Linked DNA regions of Homo sapiens: region 2 is linked to region 1. Evidence: promoter capture Hi-C in human tissues and cell types (Jung and others, 2019). All regions are on one chromosome and are shown on one strand. The core of a region is centred on a gene start or on the middle of the fragment in contact, and the rest is flanking DNA. Distances in the headings are between cores, read along the strand shown.

What was found. The method cuts DNA at HindIII sites, captures the fragments that hold promoters and counts their contacts. A contact is called where the count stands out against the background at its distance.
Region 2: a contact is called between a fragment that was not itself captured here and the fragment with the promoter of DYNC1H1 in region 1, in 1 of the 25 tissues and cell types used here (dorsolateral prefrontal cortex).

What each region holds. Positions count from the first base shown.
Region 1 is chr14:101,960,018-101,967,329 of GRCh38, forward strand. DYNC1H1 (dynein cytoplasmic 1 heavy chain 1) reads left to right here and starts at 4,556. Exons shown (of 78, transcript NM_001376.5): 1 at 4,556-4,930. The coding sequence starts at 4,675. RefSeq lists silencers at 1,268-1,444, 4,389-4,548, 5,039-5,248 and enhancers at 1,367-1,426, 4,109-4,248, 4,293-4,903, 4,904-5,513. The HindIII fragment of the contact is 2,222 bases long and covers 2,407-4,628 here.
Region 2 is chr14:102,290,602-102,297,913 of GRCh38, forward strand. The region is part of intron 1 of MOK (MOK protein kinase); the gene reads right to left. Among named protein-coding and RNA genes, the nearest start is that of MOK, 11 kb to the right of the region's middle. The HindIII fragment of the contact is 5,250 bases long and covers 1,346-6,595 here.

The DNA.
Region 1 (7,312 bases), core at 3,306-5,805:
CCTGTTATCCCAGCACTTTGGGAGACTGAGGCGGGCGGATCACCTGAGGTCGGGAGCTCGAGACCAGCCTGACCAACATGGAGAAACCCCGTTTCTACTAAAAATACAAAATTAGCCACGTGTGGTGGCACATGCCTATAATTCCAGCTACTTGGGAGGCTGAGGCAGGAGAATCGCTTGAACTCGGGAGGCAGAGGTTGCGATGAGCGGAGATCGAGCCATTGCACTCCAGCCTGGGCAACAAGAGCGAAACTCCATCTCAAAAAAAAAAAAAAGAAAGAAAAGAAAGAAAGAAAAAAGAAAATCCAAGGCTAGAGGGCGCTGGAGAGGGCGTGCTGATAGAACACAAACCAGCCTGAGGGCCAAGCCTTGGGCCCCTCCAACCTTCAGAGGTCGCGAAGAGCAGGATCCAGCAGAGGAGACTGAGAAGGAACCTTGGTGACGAGGAGGATCTGGAGAGTGCGGCCACCAAAAGCCAGGTGAAGGTGGTGTTCAGAGAAGGAGGGAGTGCCGGCTGCATCAGTGTGTCCACGGGTCAAGCAAGATGAGGACTGAGAACTAGTCACTGGATTTGGCCACGCGGAAGTCACTGGTGACCTTGCCAAGAGTGCCTGCCCATGAATGTGGGGATGGGGTGGGAAAGGCAGTGCCCACATATGCTTATTCTCAAGGAGTTTTGCTGGAAAGGGCAGCAAAGCAGTGGAGAGGTGCTGGCAGTGGGCTACGGTAGGGCTTCCTTCTTTTCCTTTAAAGAAGGGATAGAATAGCTCAGACATCGGTGGAAAAAATCTAGGAGAGAGAGAGAACATCTGGGAGCGAGGGGAGAATTTCAGAGGTGATAACCCTGAGAGGAGATGGAGGCAGCACACCCAGGGAGTAGTGGTCCTGGCTGGGGACACCGACAGCCTTTGGTAAGAGAAGGGGCCACACACTACCAGAGGGAAGGGCCAGGGCGGTGTCAGAGGTTTTGAGGGTCTGCAGGCAGCCTGGGTTAATCCAGGGGTCAGGAGAGCCAGGTGGGAATTGTCTGCCCAGGTAGAGACAAGATTCACTAACATCTTCCCCATGGGCAGTGGGGTGCATGCTGGCATTTTCATTGTCATTACTTGTTCTGTGACCCTGGACAAGCAAGCCAGGTGACCTTGGGCAGGTGAGCCTGCTGTCACCAGGATGGATGGGCAGCAGGCTGGGGAGGTGGGTCCCCTACAAGCAGAAGAAAATTCCATGCGACACATCCTTTGCTGCCACTAGACGGCGCCAAGAGACCGTTCCGTTCTCACCACGCGCTTCAAACTCCAACCTGCTGGGGTCGAAGCCTCCAGGAACCAGATCTGGTTCAAGCCTCACCCTGAGGCTCATTTGACAAGGAATCAAGACAGAAAGGGGGTGGATCCTGGAATGAGCTTCCTCAGAAAGCGTCCTGCAGCCCTGCGAACCTGTGAAGTCCCAGCCTTGCCCTCCAGCAGCACCCTGACAGCCCCAGAGATGTGGCCAGGAAGGTCTTGATCCACAGTGCACCCCGTGTCCCCACGGCCACCGCCAGCGCCCCTTCCTCGGGGTAAGGCATTAGTTTCACACCCACCAACCAAGTGCACGCTTTGGTCCAGGCCCCGCTGGTGCTGAGAATCCCGAGAAGCTTAGACCTCCCTGCTCTCACAAGTGGGGATGAATGAATGAACGAATGAGCCCAAGATGGAAATTCTTTTTCTTTAAATTTATTATTATTATTATTATTATTATTATTATTATTATTTAGAGACGGGGTCTCACTCTCTTGCACAGGCTGGAGTGCAGTAGTGAGATCACAGCTCACTGCAGCCTCGACCTCCACCTCAACCTTTTGAGTAGCTGGGAACAAGGGTGTGCACCACCACACCTGGCCAAATGTGGAATTTCCAGGGAGTGGAGGGGAGATCCTGGGCACAGAGCCTGAAAGGGCTGGGGCAGCAGGGGTTCCTCTGAGGGGGTTGGTCCTGCCCGAAGGTTGTGAGAGGGAGAGGAAGGATGGTATGAAACTGGGCACCCGACTTGAGACTTGGACTTAAGGAGACATTGTTAAGAGAAGGGTGGGAATGAATGGGATCTCATCATGGATTTCCAATAGGATACAAGCGCCCTACCAGCCACTATCATCCCACATCAACCTAGAACGAATTCTCTCTCCAGCTTGCCCTGCCCCCTGCCCTGCCCAGAGTCTGTCCAAGCAGACTCTACCACAGACAGGAGAAAGCTGAGGCAGCAGAACAAGAGACGGGAGAGGCCAGGTTTGGGTGAGGGGCCCTACCCCCACCAGGGTCAGCTTGGGGTGTGCTGGAGCCAGAGTCCTGTGCCAGGAGGCAGAAGGGGCACCTTGAAAGAAGCTCCCCACACCCTTCAACCCTGGCACAGCCCAGCCAGCCACCCAGGTAATGCACTTAAAGTGCTCAGCACCCAGTCAGCGTTGACCACTCTTCTCGTTATATATTAAATACAACAAACATCTTTCAAGAACAAAAAGCAAGCATGTTTGGTCCATTCATGAATCCTTGTACACTGATTGTTCGGGTTCTTTCAGTTCCCATCCACTTAGAAATAACAAACATGTTTCATTTTGAGCCTATCCTACAGGGCCGCAAATCCGGAGCCTGCAGTTTGTTCTCTTGGCCTGGGGCCAGGTTGCAGATGTTTGAGTCCCTTGGATCCCTGAGTGGCTGCGTCTCCCAGTCTGGTGCTGACTCATGGTGCAGCCAGCATGCAGCCTGCCCATCGGCCAGGTCCCTGCAGGTTTCTGAGTCTCAGATGGTGGATGGCCTATTCAGAGTTCACAGATCTGCACCTAATAGACTTTCCTCTTTGTCCCTCTTTCTACCCCTAAAGTACATGTGAGGGGAAACCCTCTGCATGGTGCCTAGCACGCAGTGAACACTCAGCGTTCGCTGTCAGTGGTGTGTTATTATTATTCATTACCATTAGGATCCTTGCACAAACTCATCGCAGTTGCCTATTTATTTTTTCCAGGAAGATTACTCGGAACTGCTTAGGCACATCACACCAGGGCGGACTGATGGAGAGCAGGAAGATGGGGTATTCATCTGTCCCCTCTTCCACATGCTCCTTAAAGACAAGAATCATCTGATTAGTCTCCGTGTTCCAGCAACCCCCTGGGACCCAGCAACCGGTAATTAGGCAAGGAATAAGCTTATTGTATGTTTCACAGTTTTTCAAAGATGATTTGGGAGAATCAAATCATACCATCATCATTCCACCAATCAGGACTCGGCACTCTGACAGTGCACTTTGATGTTTAAAAAAAACAAAAAAACCAAAAAAAAAAAAAACGCCATTGGCTTCCCTCTCTCCACCCAACTTAAGAAAGAAGTTATGAATGTGAACTTTCAAAGGCCAATTACTACCCCTTAGAAGAACCTACCATCTCTAAACTACAAAGATGGGCAGCCTGGATTCTATTATTTTTATTATTTTACAAAATTCTTAATTTTTAAATACACATAGATATAGGGTCTCGCTAGGTTGACCAGGCTGGTCTTGGAACTTCTGGCCTCAAGCAATCCTCCCATCTCAGCCTCTCAAAATGCTAGGATTACAGGTGTGAGCCACCGCACCCAGCTGGGCAGCCTGGATTCTGGCTCTTATGTAGTCATGGTGTAGGGGAGGAGGTCGTGGTGGGTCCGAACTAGGGGGAAACTTGGTGGGCAGGCAACCCAGCCCCTGCCTTGTACGGACCCAGATACTGAGGCCCACAGAATGACAGTGCCAGCTCTAGGGGGCTGGAGGAGAGCCATTGCTGGAGGTAGCTGTTCTCAGTAGGTCTCCCTCTTGGTCCTCACAGCGTCCTCGGGGACAATGATTTTTGTCATTAGGAACCAGATCCCATCACAGCTTGGCTTTACGTACAGTGAAGGTGTCATTCCTGGCTTAACCTTACACTGCCCCGAAGGCCCCCTCCCCAGCTGTCCGTTTCCAGCCTGGCAATGGGACTCTCTGAGCACGCCCCTCATCTCCTCCCCCTCTGAAAAGTATCCTCAATCTCCCGGTCTATATCTAATAACACATCTGTCGTGCCTATATTTTGGTACCTGATACGTAGTCATTCATTCATTCAATGAGAGAACATTTAATGAGAGGTTAAGGGGCTTAGAACAACGCCGGGCACAGGCTAAGCGCTCACTAAACGTTAGCTCTCGCCAATAACATCACTGATTCACTATAAAGTTTCTCTGGCTGTGTGCTATTCGCTGCGTCCACAGCAGTGAAGAAGACAGACGCAGCCCCTGACCAACCTCGCCAAGCCCGGGCGCCGAGCCAGGACGTTGAGCCAAGTCCCCATCTCCTAGGACTCGCAGTGCGGAGGCTGCGGGCCCCGACCAGCGCCGAGACTACAAGTCCCAGAAGGGCGCGCGGCGACATCGCCGGGCCCGCCCCCCGCGCACGCGCGGCGCCGTGACGCTAAGGCCGCGAGCGAGCGCGGGTGGCTGCGGCGGCTGCGGCCGGCGGGGCGGGGCGGGGCCACCTGGCAGTGGCTGCCTTTAGGGCGGAGCCGGCTCCCGCTCTCCTCAGTCTGCGGTGGGCTAGCGGACGGTCCGGCTTCCGGCGGCCGTTTCTGTCTCTTGCTGGCTGTCTCGCTGAGTCGCGGCCGCCTTCTCATCGCTCCTGGAAGGTCCCGAGCGCGACACCATGTCGGAGCCCGGGGGCGGCGGCGGCGAGGACGGCTCGGCCGGATTGGAAGTGTCGGCCGTGCAGAATGTGGCGGACGTGTCGGTGCTGCAGAAGCACCTGCGCAAGCTGGTGCCGCTGCTGCTGGAGGACGGCGGCGAGGCGCCGGCCGCGCTGGAGGCGGCGCTGGAGGAGAAGAGCGCCCTGGAGCAGATGCGCAAGTTCCTTTCGGACCCGCAGGTCCACACGGTGCTGGTGGAGCGCTCCACGCTCAAAGGTGCGGGGCCGCGGAGGGCAGGGTCGCCAGAGCCAGGCCTCGCGGAATGCAGGGCCTGCCAGGTCCTCCGGGGTCGCAGATGTCCCCGGGATGGGAGGAGCCCGGCAGCTGCAGATGACCCCTGGATGGGCAGAGCCCGGCGGCCGCAGACGTCCCGCCGGCCGGGTCCCCAGGGCCGCAGACGCCCCGCAGAGGCCGGCGCGGCGCCCGGGGCTCGCCCTCGCCACACCCACTGCCCGGCCCGGAGCCCCCAGGGCGCCCCGCTCCTGGTCGCGGGGAGGGGAAAGGGGTCCCCGTCTGCCGTCACCCAAAACAATGGGGTCGCTTTGTCTGCTCGGGCCTCTCAAGATGGCCGAGTTGGGTGGAGACAGCGTCTCCCTGGGCTGAGAGCGGGCGAGGCCGCATCCCTGCCTCCAGTGTCACATGAGCTTTTCGGTTTCGATTTGTGTCCAAGCCAAGTGGCCTTCGGGAGGGATGTGTCGGGGGCAGACCCGCGGAGCTGGGGGCAGCCGGGGTTCTGGTTCGGGAGGAGGTCGGGCGGGTGTCCCAGCCCTGCCTTGTGGGGACCCAGAGGCCGAGGCCCACAGAGCGACGGTGCCAGCCCCGGGCCTGCGAGCATCACTGTTGTAGGTGGATGCTCTCACAGCATCCTTGCTGAACGGGTGTATCCTGATTTTACACCTGAGGAAACTGAGGCTCAGGTTAAGTGATTTCACCCAAGGTCACCAGCTAATCTTAGTCCTGAGACTAGACTCAGTGTCTCAGCTCCCCATCCACTGCTTGTTTTCACTGATCATACCTCATATTTGTTTAATGCTTCGATGATGTTAATGATAACCCTGTAATATTTGAGTCTAATTTTACAGATTAAAAAAAAAAAAAAAGATTCAGGTTAGGCACCTAGTAGGGGGAAGAGGCTAGAGTTAGCGTGTTCCAGCTGTCTCCTCAAATAATGATCGCCCACCAGCAAGGTTACATTCATCTAAGTCTGGGGCTTGCCTGCAGGCAGGCTTTCTCATGGATTCATTACAACCACTTTGTAGCCCATTACAACCACTTTGGGTGTGGCGTGTCCATCTAAGAACCTAAGGATGATGTCCAAGGTTAGCCTCTAGGGATTGGAGATTGTCTAAAAATATTTGCCAACAAGCTTCTTAAAATTTCAAAAAACTGTATGGTTCTCTCAGTGAGAGACCCTGTACTGTCTGCCCCATCCTTAACACACACTGTGTTTCTGATGGTTTGTTTCTTTCAAAGGCTATTCTTACTCAGAAGATGCTTCCCTGTAGCCTTGGTTTCCTGCCAGAGATTAGCAGGGTGTAAAAGAATATTTTTTTCTTATATCCACGTGGAATGTTCAAGGCAAATAAACCATTTGAGCATATTTAGAGTATTAATGTTTTTGAGGGTTGTTTACTGTGATGTTTGGGATTATGTATTCCTAAGTGGAAGCCACAAAAGTTAAAAAAAAAAAATTTATCTACTCTTTTTTTTTTCCAAAAAACATATAGTCATTGTAGAAAATGTACTATACAGCTAAAGTAAAAATCACTGGGAATTGTTTGACCCAGATATAATCACTGTCAGCATTTTTGGTTTATGTCTTTGTGGTCATTTTTCAATGCATATTCGTCATTTTATTAAAATACATTTTAATCTGCATTTTTAAAGTTAATTGTATTTTGAGTAGCTTGACCATTGCTAATCCTTGATATTTTTATTGCATAGTTTATGTATTAGAATCAGTGATTTTATTTTTTTTACCTTGTGTCACTCTTTTTATGAAAAAAAATTTAAGTTTTATACTTTGCTTCTAGAGTGATCACCAGTAATTCGCTTTTTCCAGGCATCTTAAAATTGGACGTTGCTAAAATTATTGGGGTGGGGGGACTATGTTTATGTAGTACAATATCTACTACAAATTCTCTCTGTTGTCTTATGAGTACCTTTTTTTCTTTCAGCAAAACAAATATGCAGGTATCCAAATCTTGGCTCCATAATGACTTGCACTTTTGAAAGTTGACTAAGGAATGAGACTATCTAAAATTGAAATCCTACCTCATTTCTGTATTTATAACAATCCTTGAAGTATTTCTACCAATTCAACCTGTCTATAATTTATTTTTCACTTACAAAAACCTAAGGAAAGATTTTTAAATTAATCCAGTTTTATGATAGATGGTCTGTTTGTCTTATTAGCAGCCTGGCTACACTAGGACACCTTAGATATAAGTAGAGACCCAGGACTTTTGGTAGGAGGGCTTTCTTCTTGGTGGCTTTTATGAGTTAGCTTTGGCATTTGTACATTTAATCAAATATGTGCATCCAGTAGTTAATTACAGTGAAAAGATAGGCATGCATTAATGTAGACAACAGAGCTGA
Region 2 (7,312 bases), core at 2,721-5,220, 330 kb after region 1:
GAGCAAAAGAAAGGTGGCCTACTGCACCAGGAAGGGCTGCTCTCCATTACCACTTCCAGGAAAAACAACCTGAGGATGCTGAATCTCCAGACTAGCATTTTCCAAACTGAGTACTACAAAACACGAGGATCCCTGAACCCTAATGGGTATTCCACAAAAGAGGGTTCCATAAGCAAATAAATTTAGGAAATACAGAGTTAAATACGGCAAAATGTGTTTGCAGAATTCCTCAATGCCTTTCCCTGCATATGAGATGAGTCTCCAAATGGAGGTGGGGTATATGAGAGGGGTGTGAGATACAACCAGAGAACACCAGTTAACATCCCCCAGCACCGCTCTAGATCCCCAAACCGAAGATCTTCAAACTATGCTATTAGAATCCCTTTTATCCAAGTTTTCCCTGAATAAAAGAGGAACTAATCTAGCTCCCAGCAAGGCAGGGTTTCAGAACTATTCTGCTAGCTTTATTGTTCTCACTTGCCTTCTGGGAGAAACTGGCTAATGTAAGGCAGGAGTGAGCCCCGCTGAGGCTTCAGGACAGAGCACGGTACCATATCCCTTCTGACAAAAAACCGGAAGCCATAACTTGCTTGACAACTATAGCTTAACTAAGTCCCAGAGCCTCTCTACAACTGGAAACCTAATTAAATTCCATTAAATCCTAAAACCAGGCAATAAAGATTCTTTGGTGCATCTCCAAGAAGCTTCTGCAAAAGAAATGGACCAAAATACAGGCCCTGGCCCTGACCACTAATTTGTACAGTTTAAAACCTCATTAAGTAATTTTGACAAGTTTCTTGAGGAGCCTCCAAACTTGAAACTTTGTGGGAAAATTCAACAGCCTAAACATCTTCTGCCCTCAAGCAGACCCTCATACTGACCTACCAGGCCCTGTTCATACTAGTCAAGGGATAGCTGTTGCTTGCTAAAACACCACCAAAATTTACCCCTTCTCTTAAATGAATTAAACTGGAAAGCCCAGAAATTTCTCTACAAGAAGATCAGTGTCTTCATTGTGCAGAAGAGCTCACACAGCAGGCCTGGGACTTCTCTCCTTAGAAAGGTCTGCTTGCAGCCAAGTGCGGTGGCTCACACCTGTAATCCCAGCACTTTGGGAGGCCAAGGTGGGCAGATCACCTCAGATCGGGAGTTTGAGACCAGCCTGGCCAACATGGTGAAACCCCATCTCTACTAAAAATACAAAAAATTTTCCAGGCATGGTGGCCTGTGCCTGTAATCCCAGCTACTTGGGAGGCTGAGACAGAAGAACTGTCTGAACCTGGGAGGCGGAGGTTGCAGTGAGCCGAGATCACGCCACTGTACTGAAGCCTGGGCAACAGAGCAAAACTCTGTCTCAAAAAAAAAAAAACTAACAATAATAATAATAAAGACTTCTTAGCACCAGCTATATACCACACACTGTGCCATGCACTGTAGACACAAATATCATTAAGACGTAATCCCTAGTCTTGAGAATTTACAGTATGTCCCTATACCCCTAATTTTAGGTCCTTTCCTTATAAAAGAGGGAGGGAGGAAATGGAACATTTTTGTTTAGAAAATATCAATGGTCAAATTATGGAGTACATAGGCCGGGTGCGGTGGCTCATGCCTGTAATCCTAGCACTTTGGGAGGCTGAGGCGGGTGGATCACAAGGTCAGGAGATCGAGACCATCCTGGCTAACACGGTGAAACCCCATCTCTACTAAAAATGTGAAAAATTAGCCGGGCATGGTGGCAGACAGCTGTAGTCCCAGCTACTCAGGAGGCTGAGGCAGGAGAATGGCGTGAACCCAGGAGGTGGAGCTTGCAGTGAGCCGAGATAGCACCACTGCACTCTAGCCTGGGCAACAGAGCAAGACTCCATCTCAAAAAACAAAACAAAACAAAACAAAACAAAAAAACAACTAATTATGGAGTACATAGTGTGTAATACCAAATACATGGTGCTCTGGATTCCAATCTTCCAGGACCGGCCTGGGAAGCTTTCAAGCAGATGTCTTTCTTCCTTCTGTGTGCACCTTGTCCTCCTGTTACAGAACTGCTCATGCTCCACTATGCACCTTCTCCTCATAAAGCCATAAACCTCTTAAATAGAAAGTCCACAATCTGTTCTCTCTTGTGCCATTACACTTAGAGAAACAAAAACCAACAGGAAAAAAAAAAAGCTTGGGGAATTAAATATTATTTTAGTATTAAAACCATTCAATTTGTATATGAGTGAATCTGTACATTAACAGCCACATTGAGGCTGGGTGTGGTAGCTCATGCCTGTAATCCCAGCACTTTGTGAGGCTGAGGTGGGCAGATCACCTGAGGTCAAGGGTTCCAAACCAGCCTGGCCAACATAATGAAACCCCATCTCTACTAAAAATACAAAAATTCGCCAGGAGGGTGGCGCACACCTGCAATCCCAGCTGCTAGCAAGGCTGAGGCATAAGAATCGCTTGAACCTGGGAGGCGGAGGTTGCAGTGAGCGGAGATTGTGCCACTGCACTCCAGCCTGGGTGACAGAGCTAGATTCCATCTCAAAAACAAAAAACAAATGAACAAACAAAAAACTTCATAAACAAAGATGGTATTCACAGTGTCACAAAAGTAAGAATGCCAGAAACTTAAATATCCAGTATCAAGGAAATGTTCTAACAAACTATGAAATAGCCACAGACTGAAATATTATGTAACCATTGATAACGATGCTTTCAAATAATATTTCATGACATGGGAAAATGTTCAGCCATAATTTCATGTTAAGTGAAAAAAAGGATGATAATGATCATACACACAACACATGCACAGAGAAAGACTGAATACAGCTGGGTGCGGTGGCTCACGCCTGTAATCCCAGCACTTTGGGAGGCTGAGGCAGGCGGATCACCTGAGGTCAGGAGTTCGAGACCAGCATGACCAACATGGAGAAACCCTGTCTCTACTAAAAATACAAAATTAGCCAGGTGTGGTGGTGCATGCCTGTAATCCCAGCTACTCGGGAGGCTGAGGCAGGAGAATCACTTGAACCCAGGAGGCGGAGGTTGCGGTGAGCCAAGATCATAGCACCATTGCACTCCAGCCTGGGCAACAAGAGCGAAACTCCATCACAAAAAAAAAAAAAAAAAAAAAAAAAGAAAAGAAAAGAAAAAAAAGAAAAAGACTGAATATAAATATGTAATTTTTTTAATGTATCTGAGTGGGACTGAAGGTGATTTAAATTTTCTTCATTATAATTATCTACATTACTCAATGTTCGCAATGAATACACATTACTTTAAATGTGTGTAAAGGTGAACATTTCAAGAATTTTAAGAAATCAGTGAAAGTGTTGGCTAAGTGCCACGAAAAACATGAACTTAAAATGAACTGTCTTAAAACTACAATATCCTTTTAAAGGAAGACAGTCATAAAGATCACGGGAAGGGGCCAGGTGTGGTGGCTCATGCCTGTAATCCCAGCACTCTGGGAGGCTTAGGCAGGCGGATCACCTGATCCCAGGAGTTTGAGACCAGCCTGGGTAACATGGTGAAATCTTGTCTCTACCAAAAATACAAAAAAATTAGCCAGGTGAGGCCGGGTGCGGTGGCTCATGCCTGTAATCCCAGCACTTTGGGAGGCCAAGGCGGGCGGATCACGAGGTCAGGAGATCAACACCATCCTGGCTAACATGGTGAAACCCCGTCTCTACTAAAAATACAAAAAATTAGCCAGGCGTGGTGGTGGGCACGTGTAGTCCCAGCTACTCGGGAGGCTGAGGCAGGAAAATGGCATGAACCCGGGAGGCGGAGCTGGCAGTGAGCCGAGATAGCGCCACTGCACTCCAGCCAGGGTGATAGAGCGAGACTCCGTCTCAAAAAAAAAAAAAAAAAAAATTAGCCAGGCATCGTGATGCGTGCCTGTAGCCCCGGCCACTTGGGAGGCTGAGATAGGAGAATCCTCTGAGCCCGGGAAGTCAAGGCTGCAGTGAGCCATGATGGTGCCACTGTACTCCAGCCTGAGTGACAGACAGCGAGAGACCTTGTCTCAAAAAGAAAAAAAAAAGAAAATCAAAGGAGGGATTGGAGGTCAATCACTCAAAGTCAAGCTGTGGACTAAGGAATTCAGATTTAAGAGAAGAGGGAATTTACACAATCAATTCCAATTTGTGTTTCATCACAGATAAATTAAGCAGACTTGCTTTAAAAAAAATAGGTCAACTGTGAACTGTAAAGTGGTTTCAGCACACAAATTCAGTGTGTGCCAATGTCCCAGGCTGGCTCGAAACCATCACAACCAGCAATAAATGGAACTTGCCGCACTGGAGGTGTCTGTTGGTAGATAAAGGGGTCACTTGTTTCCCTCATGGCTCTTCTAGTAGGCAGAAAGTATGGGGTATAAAACAAGGATAAGAGGCAGGGATTAAAAAAGAAACCACCTCTATGAAAAAATTCCTGGGAAAAGTTCCTGTTCTCTCCAACAAGATCTGGCGTATTTTCATAGGCCTTCAAAATTAAACAAGAAACACTGAAATGCAGACAAAGCATGATACAAAGCTCTGAAGGGAACAGAGCTATGATACTGTAAATGAACGTCATGCCCCACATTATTGGGAATAGAGTAAACAAGCACCAAAACAAAAAGAAAAACAGACTCAAGGACAAAGGGGTTAAAATAACAGAGCTGGATGAAAAAGGGAGAACAAGGGAGATAAATGAATACCTCTGTATTAAGATTCTATGCACATTTATTAAACCAAGGCTTGTTTGTTGAAGTGGAATTTAAGCCTTATTTAACAAGTGAAAATGAAGGTCAAATTCACTTTTTGTGAAATGCAAAACTTGTCACGTTCAAGTCCAAACATTTTTATTCATGTGCTGTTTATAAAGTTCTTAATCAGGGTGGGTGACAGGCATCAGAGCTATGGGGCTTCACCAGTAGAGGGAGGAAAAGAATTGGGGGAGGTTAATTGCTGACTACAACTAGAGTATGCGAGGAAGAAGATTTCAGCTTCTTACTAATTTCCATTCTCTTCGAGAGATTAAACAGTTCAAACCAAATTACTAAAACAAGGTCAGGAAGCTTCAGTGAAGAGGAGCTGTACACAATTAATTATTTGATATAGTGAGGAAAATTATGACCTGAATTACTAAACATTGTGAAAACAGAAAAGAACACAAAACTATTCAAAAATTCTTAAAATTTTAAAATTGAAATTACACCTATTAACCCAGTAAGTCCACTGTTAATAAACTTGAAGAATTATTCAAAGATCTATGTTCTGGACTGGGCGTGATGGCTCACATCTGTAATCCTAACACTTTGGGAGTGCAAGATGGGAGGATCACTTCAGATCAGGAGTTCATGACCAGCCTGGTCAACATAGCAACACCTGGCTAGGCATAGTGGCTCATGCCTGTAATCCCAGCACTTTGGGAGACCAAGACGGGTCGATCACCTGAGGTCAGGAGTTCAAGACCAGCCTGGCCAATATGGTGAAACCGAGTCTCTACTAAAAATACAAAAATTAGCCAGGCGTGGTGGTGCCTGCCTGTAATCTCAGCTACCTGGAAGGCTGAGGCAGGAGAATCGCTTGAACCCAGAAGGTGGAGAGTACAGTGAGCCAAAATCACGCCACTGCACTCCAGCCTGGGCAACAGACTGAGAGTACGTCTCAAAAAAAAAAAAAAAAAATAGCAAGATCTATTACAAAAAAAAAACTATGTTCAAGCATCTTCATAGATGCATCATCCTACAAGCTACAATACAACATATTTAATGTAATCCCATTTGATTTTGGGTAAGGAACAACCATATATTTATATGTATATACACACACACCAATATATAAAACTTGTGTGTATATACACAAAAATATGCATAGAAAATGTATGAATGTCCATCTAAGACAATGTTAACCAGGATTTACTGTGGCAAATAGGGGAAGGTCCTGAGGCTAACTCAAAACCTTCTATGGTTTGGATTTATCACAAAGCCAGTATTAAGTTTACCTCATTTTGTTTTTATTTCAAGAGAAACAGTTGCTAGATAATGCATCTACTTATAAAAACAGAAAGTGGCCAGGCACAGCTGTAATTCCAACATATTGGGAGGCCGAGACAGGAGGACCACCAGATCCCAGGATTTTGAGACCAGTCTAGGCAACATGGTGAGACCCTCATCTCTAAAAAAATAATAATAATAAATAAGTAAAATAAAATGGCTCACACCTGTAATCCCAGCACTTTGGGAGGCTGAGGCAGGTGGATCACAAGGTCAGGAGATCGAGACAAGCCTGGCCAATATGGTGAAACCCTGTCTCTACTAAAAATACAAAAATTACCCAGGCGTGGTGGCAGACACTTGTAGTCCCATCTACTTGGGAGGCTGAGGTGGGAGAATACCTTGAACCCAGGAGGCAGAGGTTGCAGTGAGCTGAAATCACACCACTGCACTCCAGCCTGGGCAACACAGCGAGACTCTGTCTCAAAAAATAATAATAAATAGGCTGGGCACGGTGACTCACGCCTGTAATACCAGCACTTTGGGAGGCCAAGGTGGGCAGATCACGAGGTCAGGAGATCAAGACCATCCTGGCTAACACGGTGAAACCCCATCTCTACTAAAAGTATAAAAAAATTAGCAGGGTGTGGTGGCGGGCGCCTGTAGTCCCAGCTACTCTGGAGGCTGAGGCAGGAGAATGGCATGAACCCAGGAGGCGGAGCTCACAGTGAGCCAAGATTACGTCACTGCACTCCAGCCTGGTCCACACTGCAAGACTCCGTCTCAAAAATAATAATAACAATAACAAATAAATAAACAAATAAAATAAAAACAAAAATTGATGCTCACAGAAGGAGATGAAAAGGATTATTTGAGGTACCTTTTTTGATTCCATGAAAATACTAGTGAGAGGTGATAGCGTGCTGGCAGCCCTTGAAGCCCTCGCTGGCTCTCGGCACCTCCTCGGCCTCGGTGCCCACTCTGGCCACGCTTGAGGAGCCCTTCAGCTCGCCGCTGCACTGTGGGAGCCCCTCCCTGGGCTGGCCGGGGCCAGAGCCGGCTCCCTCAGCTTGCGGGGAGGTGTGGAGGAAGAGGCACCGCGAGGTGTGGAGGGAGAGGTGCAGGCGGGAACCGGGGCTGCACGTGGTGCTTGCGGGCCAGCATGAGTTCTGGGTGGGTGTGGGCTCAGCGGGCCCCGCACTAGGTGCGGCCAGCTGGTGCTGCTGGCCCCGGGCAGTGACGGGTTTAGCACCCGGGCCAGCAGCTGCTGAGGGTGCACCGGATACCCTGCAGTGCCGGCCCACCGGCCCTGCCTGTGCTCAAATTCTTTCTGGGCCTCAG